Regions from separate parts of the Homo sapiens genome. Here region 2 is linked to region 1. The links are contacts of gene promoters, found by promoter capture Hi-C in blood cells and fetal thymus (Javierre and others, 2016). All regions are on one chromosome and are shown on one strand. The core of a region is centred on a gene start or on the middle of the fragment in contact, and the rest is flanking DNA. Distances in the headings are between cores, read along the strand shown. Region 1 holds the start of MYLIP (myosin regulatory light chain interacting protein). Region 2 holds the start of HIVEP1 (HIVEP zinc finger 1).

The links. The method cuts DNA at HindIII sites, captures the fragments that hold promoters and counts their contacts. A CHiCAGO score of 5 or more calls a contact.
Region 2: a fragment that was not itself captured here is called in contact with the fragment with the promoter of MYLIP in region 1 in 1 of 17 cell types (fetal thymus); the score reaches 7.2 in fetal thymus.

What each region holds. Positions count from the first base shown.
Region 1 is chr6:16,126,822-16,130,487 of GRCh38, forward strand. MYLIP (myosin regulatory light chain interacting protein) reads left to right here and starts at 2,265. Exons shown (of 7, transcript NM_013262.4): 1 at 2,265-2,588. The coding sequence starts at 2,502. RefSeq lists a silencer at 1,947-2,946. The HindIII fragment of the contact is 2,730 bases long and covers 565-3,294 here.
Region 2 is chr6:12,009,309-12,012,974 of GRCh38, forward strand. HIVEP1 (HIVEP zinc finger 1) reads left to right here and starts at 3,004. Exons shown (of 9, transcript NM_002114.4): 1 at 3,004-3,258. RefSeq lists an enhancer at 1,055-1,599 and silencers at 1,929-2,838, 3,019-3,158. The HindIII fragment of the contact is 4,790 bases long and covers 1-3,666 here.

The sequences.
Region 1 (3,666 bases), core at 1,015-3,514:
TCGCCTCTTCTTCCTCTTCTGAAACTTCTAGCAATTAAGCATAAAGTAGACAAGGAATGAACCAAACGCTATCTTCCAGATAAATTCCCCAGATTATTAGTAAACTGGAATTCAGGGAATAGGCACTGCAGTTAATACAAGAAGGGACTGTTTCAGCCCACAATAGCATGAGGTGTATTTATAAGACAGAAAGATGTGAGAGTGCACCTGTTCCTCTGCAACAGTGGGGGTTAGGACTTGGACAGTTTACAGTTTTACTCGGTCAGCTTTAGCAAAGAACTGTGTGTGGGAGGATCCCTCCTTTTTTTTTAGCCTTGGGCTCTGATATCGTACCTGGTTGTTCGGAAATAAAGGCCACTAACAGATCCTTGGGACTCGTGAAGGGGGGTAGGGACAGGAAAAGTCATCATTAAGCAGTGAAGGCACTGAACTTATAGCTCCCCTTACATACACGGGGACATTCAAATGCTTTTGTGAACGTTATTATCTTTGCTGCGCTTCCCAACAATGCTGGGTGGAGACAGAGCAGATATTGCCATCTCCATTTTACTGTTGACAACACCAAGCTTCAGACAGATGAAGTAAGTTTTCTCTTTTTTTTTCTTTCGTTGTTTTCTTTTTGTTGTTGTTGTTGTTTAGAGACAGGGTCTTTTGCTCTGTCGCCTAGGCTGGAGTGCAGTAGGGGGATCACAGCACACTGCAGCCTCGAACTCCCAGGCTCAAGTGATCCTCCCACCTCAGCCTCCCATGTAGCTGAGACTACAGGCAGGCGCCACCACGCCTGGCTAATTTTTTGTATTTTGTGTAGAGATGGGGTTTCGCTGTGTTGCGAAACCGGGCTGGTCTCAAACTGCTGGGCTCAGGCGATCCTCCTGCCTCGGCCTCCAAAAGTGCTGGGATTACAGGTGTGAGCCATCGAGCTGGCCTGAAGTAAGTTTGCTAAGTTTCCACGGCTGAAACCCACATCATCTGGCTCCTATAAAGAAATCAAAAAGGTAGGCTATGTAATATATTGGCAAAGAGGAACAAGCGGTAAATGAGTGAAGGGTTGTAGACCTTTAATAGCTAATATTGCAGTAATGCCACCTGTTAGGTCAGGAGATGAGCACCTTACCTTAAGACGAGGACAACATCTGGTTGCCTGTGAGAAGGGACAGGCAGGGTATCAGGTGCTGCACAAATGTTTAATGAATGAGTGAGATAAGACAGGAGGTAGAATGAGCAACCTGAGAGAGGGCCTGGTACCCTGTAAGGCGTTTTGATTCAGCAGAACGAGTAAGGAGAAGCCCTTCCGGAGTGTAACACACCAGCACTAGACCAAGACACCTGGCTCACTGGTCAGCTGCAAAAACTTTCATACTCAGATTTTGTTTTTCTCAATGATGAGGTCTTAATAAGGAACAACAATTCTGCCTCCAAGCAACCCACTGTGGCTAATCCTGGTGGAAAAGAGTTTTCTTTTTCTCTTTTTTTTTTCTTTTTTCTTTTTCTTTTCTTTTTTTTTTTTTTTTTTTTTTTTTTTTTGAGACAGGGTTTTTTGCTCTTCTTGCCCAAGCTACAGTGCAGTGACACAATCTCAGCTCACTGCAACCTCCGCCTCCTGGGTTCAAGCGATTCTCCTGCCTCAGCCTCCCAGGTAGCTGGGATTACAGGTGCCCGCCACCACGCCTGGCTATTTTGTTTTTTTTTTTGTATTTTTAGTAGAGACGGGGGTTTCACCATGTTTGCCAGGCTGGTCTCGAATCTGACCTCAGGTGATCCACCCATCTCGGCCTCCCAAAGTGCTGGGATTACAGGCGTGAGCCACCATGCCCGGACGAGAACAGTTTTCTTTAGGCTTTGGGTTGCTCCTTTTCCTTTTTGCTTTCACAACCGAAATGCGTGCTCAGAGTGATCCAAGATATTTGAAGAACAGTGGCAGCTTGGAGGTGTTTAATCACCGTAAATTCGAGACGGCAGAAAGGCGTCCCCGCCTGGAGCCCCGGGCGATCGCTCACTCTGAGCAGCGTCGCCCAGCGGACAGAGGCGGCTGGTGTGTTCCGGGGTCTCCCTCCCTTCCCGCAGCACTCGGCGCCCGCAAGCTGCCACCTCCCGGGGCGGCCAGGGAAACTCAGCCGGCTCTGGGAGGCGGGGGCCGCGGTCGAGGGGCGCCGCTATTGGCTGATCGGGCGGGGGAGGAGGGGCAGGGAGGCCGTGATTGGCGGGGACCCGAGCTGAAGGGGGCGGGGCCGCTATATCAGCAGAGTCCCTGTCGCAGCGCAGGCAGTTGGGCTGCTGGAGTGCGGCGCCACCGCGGAGGACAGGGGCAGCTGGCGGGCAGCGGGTGAGGGGGTGGCGGGGACGCGAGTGGCGGCCGCGGGGCCCCGGACAAGGGTCCGCAGAGCTGCAGCCTTCGAGGGCCAGCCCTCTCCGAGTCCGGGGCTGGGTCCCACCAGTGACAAGGCGGCAGCCCCGCGCACACCAAAGAGAAGGCGGCTGTGGCGGCAGCGGCAGCCCCAGCCATGCTGTGTTATGTGACGAGGCCGGACGCGGTGCTGATGGAGGTGGAGGTGGAGGCGAAAGCCAACGGCGAGGACTGCCTCAACCAGGTGAGGGCGAGGGGCAAGAAGGGGCCCCGGCGGGTCCCGCGAGGCCGAGGGGCCTCGCAGCGACGCCTGGCACTCTGGCGCGCCCCCTACTAGGGGCCGGGAGGCACTGCGGCGGCAGCCGGGGGGAGCGCGTCCCCTCCTCTCCACGGGCGTGGGGCGCGCGGTCTCCTCCTGGCGCGCGTGGGGTGCGCGGAGAAAGCGCGCAGCGGGGGTCCCCAGCGCTGAGGGCCGGGCGCAGCCCGCAGCCGGGATCCACCCCCCAGCGCCCCATCATCCCCCCAACCCAGCACTTTCCCGGAAGAAGGCGGCTCCGCACACCTGCCGCAGGTATGTGCGTGATGCCGCCTGTCGGGTCCCCGCGGCGCCTGGCAGTGCCACCCGCGTGCCAGGATGGGATGGAGTGGCTCGAAGCAGTCTCGGGCCCCAGGGGTTCTTGGCAGACAAGCCGGGCCCTTGTCTCACGCTGCTTCTCAGGCTGCTGCTCTCAAATGCACCGTTCACCTGCATCTCCGGGTTTGCGGGGGACGGGAGGAATAGGTTTGGGTCATCTACTGCTCGGTTGTTTTTAAGCATGTGTTTCCTTAACAGTGAGGGAGATCGGTGCCAAATAGTGCAGAGGTGGTATGGCAGACAGCACATGTGATCCCAGGAAAACGCTGTGCCCTCAACCCCTCTAGCTCTGAGATGTTTGGAAAACCGCTTGTGAAGCTTAGCTGACACTTGTGGCGTGTTCCCTCAATGTGTTTGATTTTTGGAGTCCAAATGGTTAAAATTGCCCAGATAATAAGTCGCCAAAAATCAGCTGTGCAGAGTATGCTGGTGGAGGGAATTCCGGTGATTGGAATACGAAGGAAAATACCCTGTAGTTTCCCCTCCTCATCTTTTGGAAGGCTACTTTTGAGGACTCCTTTTTTCTCTATTGCAATTGGTCATGCCCTAGACGTTAAAAGGAATTATGAGCCTCCATACTAGAGCTCGTGGTTTGGTATCATTGGAGCCGTGGAACTTTGTTTTTCCAGTTTAGATCAGGAATTGTAACACCATTGAACTTTGTAAAAAGCACCAGCAATCTTAGCCT
Region 2 (3,666 bases), core at 680-3,179, 4.1 Mb before region 1:
ACTTTGTGCCCTCTCCAAACTGTTCGCCAAGAAAAACGTGTGTTGAGCTTTTCAGTGACACTATCCTCCCTCGAACCCCACTTTCCCCAAGGGGGGCTCCAGAAGCGTTCACGCGGACGGTGGGGATGGAACCATAGAGAAATGGACCTCCAGGAGCCCCCTCTTTTTTGGGGGCAGAGAATGGTCACTTGCTCCTGCATTGTCCCAGGATTTTTGACAGTTGAAACTGCAGTTTACCATTCACATTCATCCTCCACATTCACCCTCTGCTTCATTTTTTTCCCACGCTGTGTTTATTTGATACATTTTGAGAAAATATATTGGATTTGCCACAAAACAAGCCTAAAGAAGCTACTTTATAGTATAGCCAGGTTTCCCTGCATCCTGATATCTGGGAAGAATTGTAGGCAGAATTAGGAAAAGAAACTGCATTTAGAAAATTCAAAAACTTACTAGGAAACTATTCTGTATTGTATATATTTCAAATAAAAGTTTAATATCGGTTTGCTGCTCAAGGAAATAGTTGAAATGTCAAAATTTACCTATCGTAATTCGAAATTGCATGTATGTTTTGTTAGAAAGTTCGTAGTAATGCTGAATCCTACATAAACATTGTGTTGACAGTATGTTGTGCTCAACAATTATTGGGTTAAACGTTATTCATTCAGTTAGCATTTTTCACTTCCAAAGTGATACAAACTTCACTCATTATCACATTACCTTTCTCCTGACAGATTAATAGCTATACGTTCACAGTTAAATGCATGTTTACTTTTGGATTCAAATAACCCAGTTGGGAAGTTACATTATATACTTTTTTGGTGATTGCAACCTATTGGATATCATTTCATTTCACAAATGAGAGATGGTTATAGCACAATGAAAATAAAAATTGCATTATTTCATCGTAGGGTTAGCATTAGTATGCTAGACATAATTGTACATGTACACAGTTGGATGATCTTTGCTTTTATAACCAAATTTACTTTGTAGTAGGCATATTTCTCCCTTTACATGATATTATTTTTGGCTACACACTCGCCATTACTGAGTATTCCATTTTTAATCATTCCCATTCTGGTGGTTTGAGCTTTTCTTAGCTCAAATGAGCCAGAGGTACGATTTCCTCAGGGGAATTTTAGGGGTCAACTCCAGCAGGAAAAACCTAGACGTCGTTATGGAAGCCCAAGGGAACAAAACAATTCAAGTTTGCACAGATGGCCAGCTGTCTTAGTGGTTGTATGGTCGTTTAGCATTTTTATTCCTTAAAAGGGGAAACCAGTTTAGTTTCATCAGGGATTTTTTTTTTTTTGCATCAATTTTGTTTCACCTTATTCCTCTCAAGTTTGAGGTGGCCCGTTAAACCAGCCACTTTTGCTTCTTGAGGTGGACCTGTGGAATTTCTGTGCCCCAAACTGCGAACGTTCTTTAGGTCTAACCCTGAAAACCTTCGTTACCCTGGTCCAGCCCCTCTTCACTGCTTTGCCATGGATTTCCACTCCTTGCTTTCTCTACTGCTTTCTAGCAGCCGGGGTCACACCTTGGTTCATGCTAATTACTCCCTCTTCCCCTTTCACGCTCTCCCCTCTTCCCTGGAGCCCGGTCCGACGACCAGCCCCGCACCCCCCTTTTCTGTCCCCGAAGTCCCCTCCCGGGTTGGCCCTATAAGCTGTCAGGCTGGCAGGCAGGGGTTAATTGCGCTCGCAGCTTCGGCACTGGGAAGCACCAGCGGGGCTTTGGAGCGGCCTCTGGAATAACCTTGGCTTTCCTCGCTCTTTTAATAGAACATCCGCCACCAAAAAGTGGTTTCAGTTCAGGGTTAACATGTCCCCTTCCACTCTCCAAACCAACACCCTGCCCCCTCCGTTTTTTTAAAAGTTGTTTTTCAAAGTTAATGAGTTTTAAGTTTCACAATGACTTTCCCCTTCCTTCTACGCGTTGCTGAGGAAACCCCCTTGGGGTCCCCCCCCCCCCCCGCCTCCCCCTCCCCCATTCTGCCCGGGCGAGGGGCGGGGCCGGGAGACCCCATGACGTCAGCGGCCGGCCCACATCCTGCTGTAGAAAGTAAAGAGACGGTAAAGAGAAACTACGGCCCCGCCCGTCCCGTCCCTCTTCCCGGACCAACCGCCCCCAACTGAGCGACCCCGCCAGGCCTTCCCGGGGCCGCGTGACTGGCCGGGCCCGCCCCTCCGCCCCCGCCGTGTGCTGGTTCCCCAGGCGTCGCGACCCAGGGCTCCCGCCCCCCGCGTCCCTAACCCCGCCCCTCCCCCCCGGGCTGCGCTGCCACCTCCTCCCGCGTCCCCCTCCCGTCCCTGCGGCGGCTCGGCCGGGCGGGGCGGGGAGGGGCGAAGCGGCGGGTAGGTGGCGGGGCCGGCGCGGTCTGGGGCCCGCCCCGCCGGGGAGACCCGGGGCACTGGCTCCGGGTTCGTGCCGGGCCGGGCGCCCATCCAGTCCCTACACCCGGTCAGAGCTGGCGGCCGCGCCGGCCCAGCTGGGCCCCGGCGCCTGGGCGTCCCGCGCCCCTCGCCCCGGCCTCAACCCCAGCCCCCGCGGGGACGCCCCCTCCCCCGCCCACGCGTCGCCGCCCGCGGCCTCCCCTCCTCCCGCCCCCGGGGATCCCCTGCCGCCCCGCCCACCCGCGGGAAAGCCTCCGACCTTCGCCCTGCCTCCCCCGCGCCGCCCGGCCCGCGTTCCTCCCGCCGGCCCCAAAGACGCTAAACGTGCCCTACTCTGCCCCGGGGGAGAGGTAAAGCCCGCGCCCGTCCTTCCCGCCCCGGGCCCCGCGGCCCCAGGGTCTGTCCGCCCGCCCCGCCGCGGCGCGCGCCCCCCAGCCCGGCTGCCCGGCTCCCTGGCGGCCGCGATCATGCCGTGGCTCCGGGCGCCGGCGAGCTTCGCCGCCTCCTCCGCCCGGCGGCTGCGGCCCCCGCCCGCGCGCCCCGCGCTCCCCCCCCCGCCCCCCGGCCCGCTCCCCTGTTTAATATTTCAGTGCTGGGTGGTGTGAGCGCCAGTCGCCGGCCTTCAGCGTGGCGGCTGCTGGGCGGCGGCAGGGTGGCGGACGGAGCGGGGGACCGGGGAGCGGCGGCCGCCGGAGGAGGTTATGTTTGTGTTTGGGGTTGTCAAGTGAAGGAGGGATCCCAGGCGCCGCCGCCGCCGCCGCGCGGGGGTCGCGGAGATCCCGAGCCGCGGCCGCCGCCATCAGCAGCGCAGCTCCAGGGCCGGCTGCAGCGGCAGCGGCTCCGCCGGGCGTCCTGGCAGCAGGTTCGGCGCGGGCTCCGCGGCGGGGGCGCTGCAGCTGGGGAGGGCGGCGGGGCGGAGGGGGGGGGGGGCAGGAGCACATCCCTTCGGCGGGCGGGGGGCGTGCGGGCGCGCGTGTGTGTGTGTGTGTGCGTGTGTGTGCAACCGCCGACCTTGCAGAGGGGATGGCTGCGTGCGGGAGACCCTTGGCACTTCTGGGCGCCCTCGCCGCGCGCGAGCCGAGCAGGTACAGAGGGACCCAGCCTCCCCAGCCGCCTTCCAGCCGCAGACGCATTTTGCAAGAGGGTGGGGGGTGAAAGAGACCAGGCCTCGGCATCCCAACCTCCCGGCTTTGTGGGTTTCTTTCCCTTTCGTTCTTTGCTCTAAGTGCCTGTTTACTCCCGGCCACCTGGGTAGTTTCTTTCCGGGTTG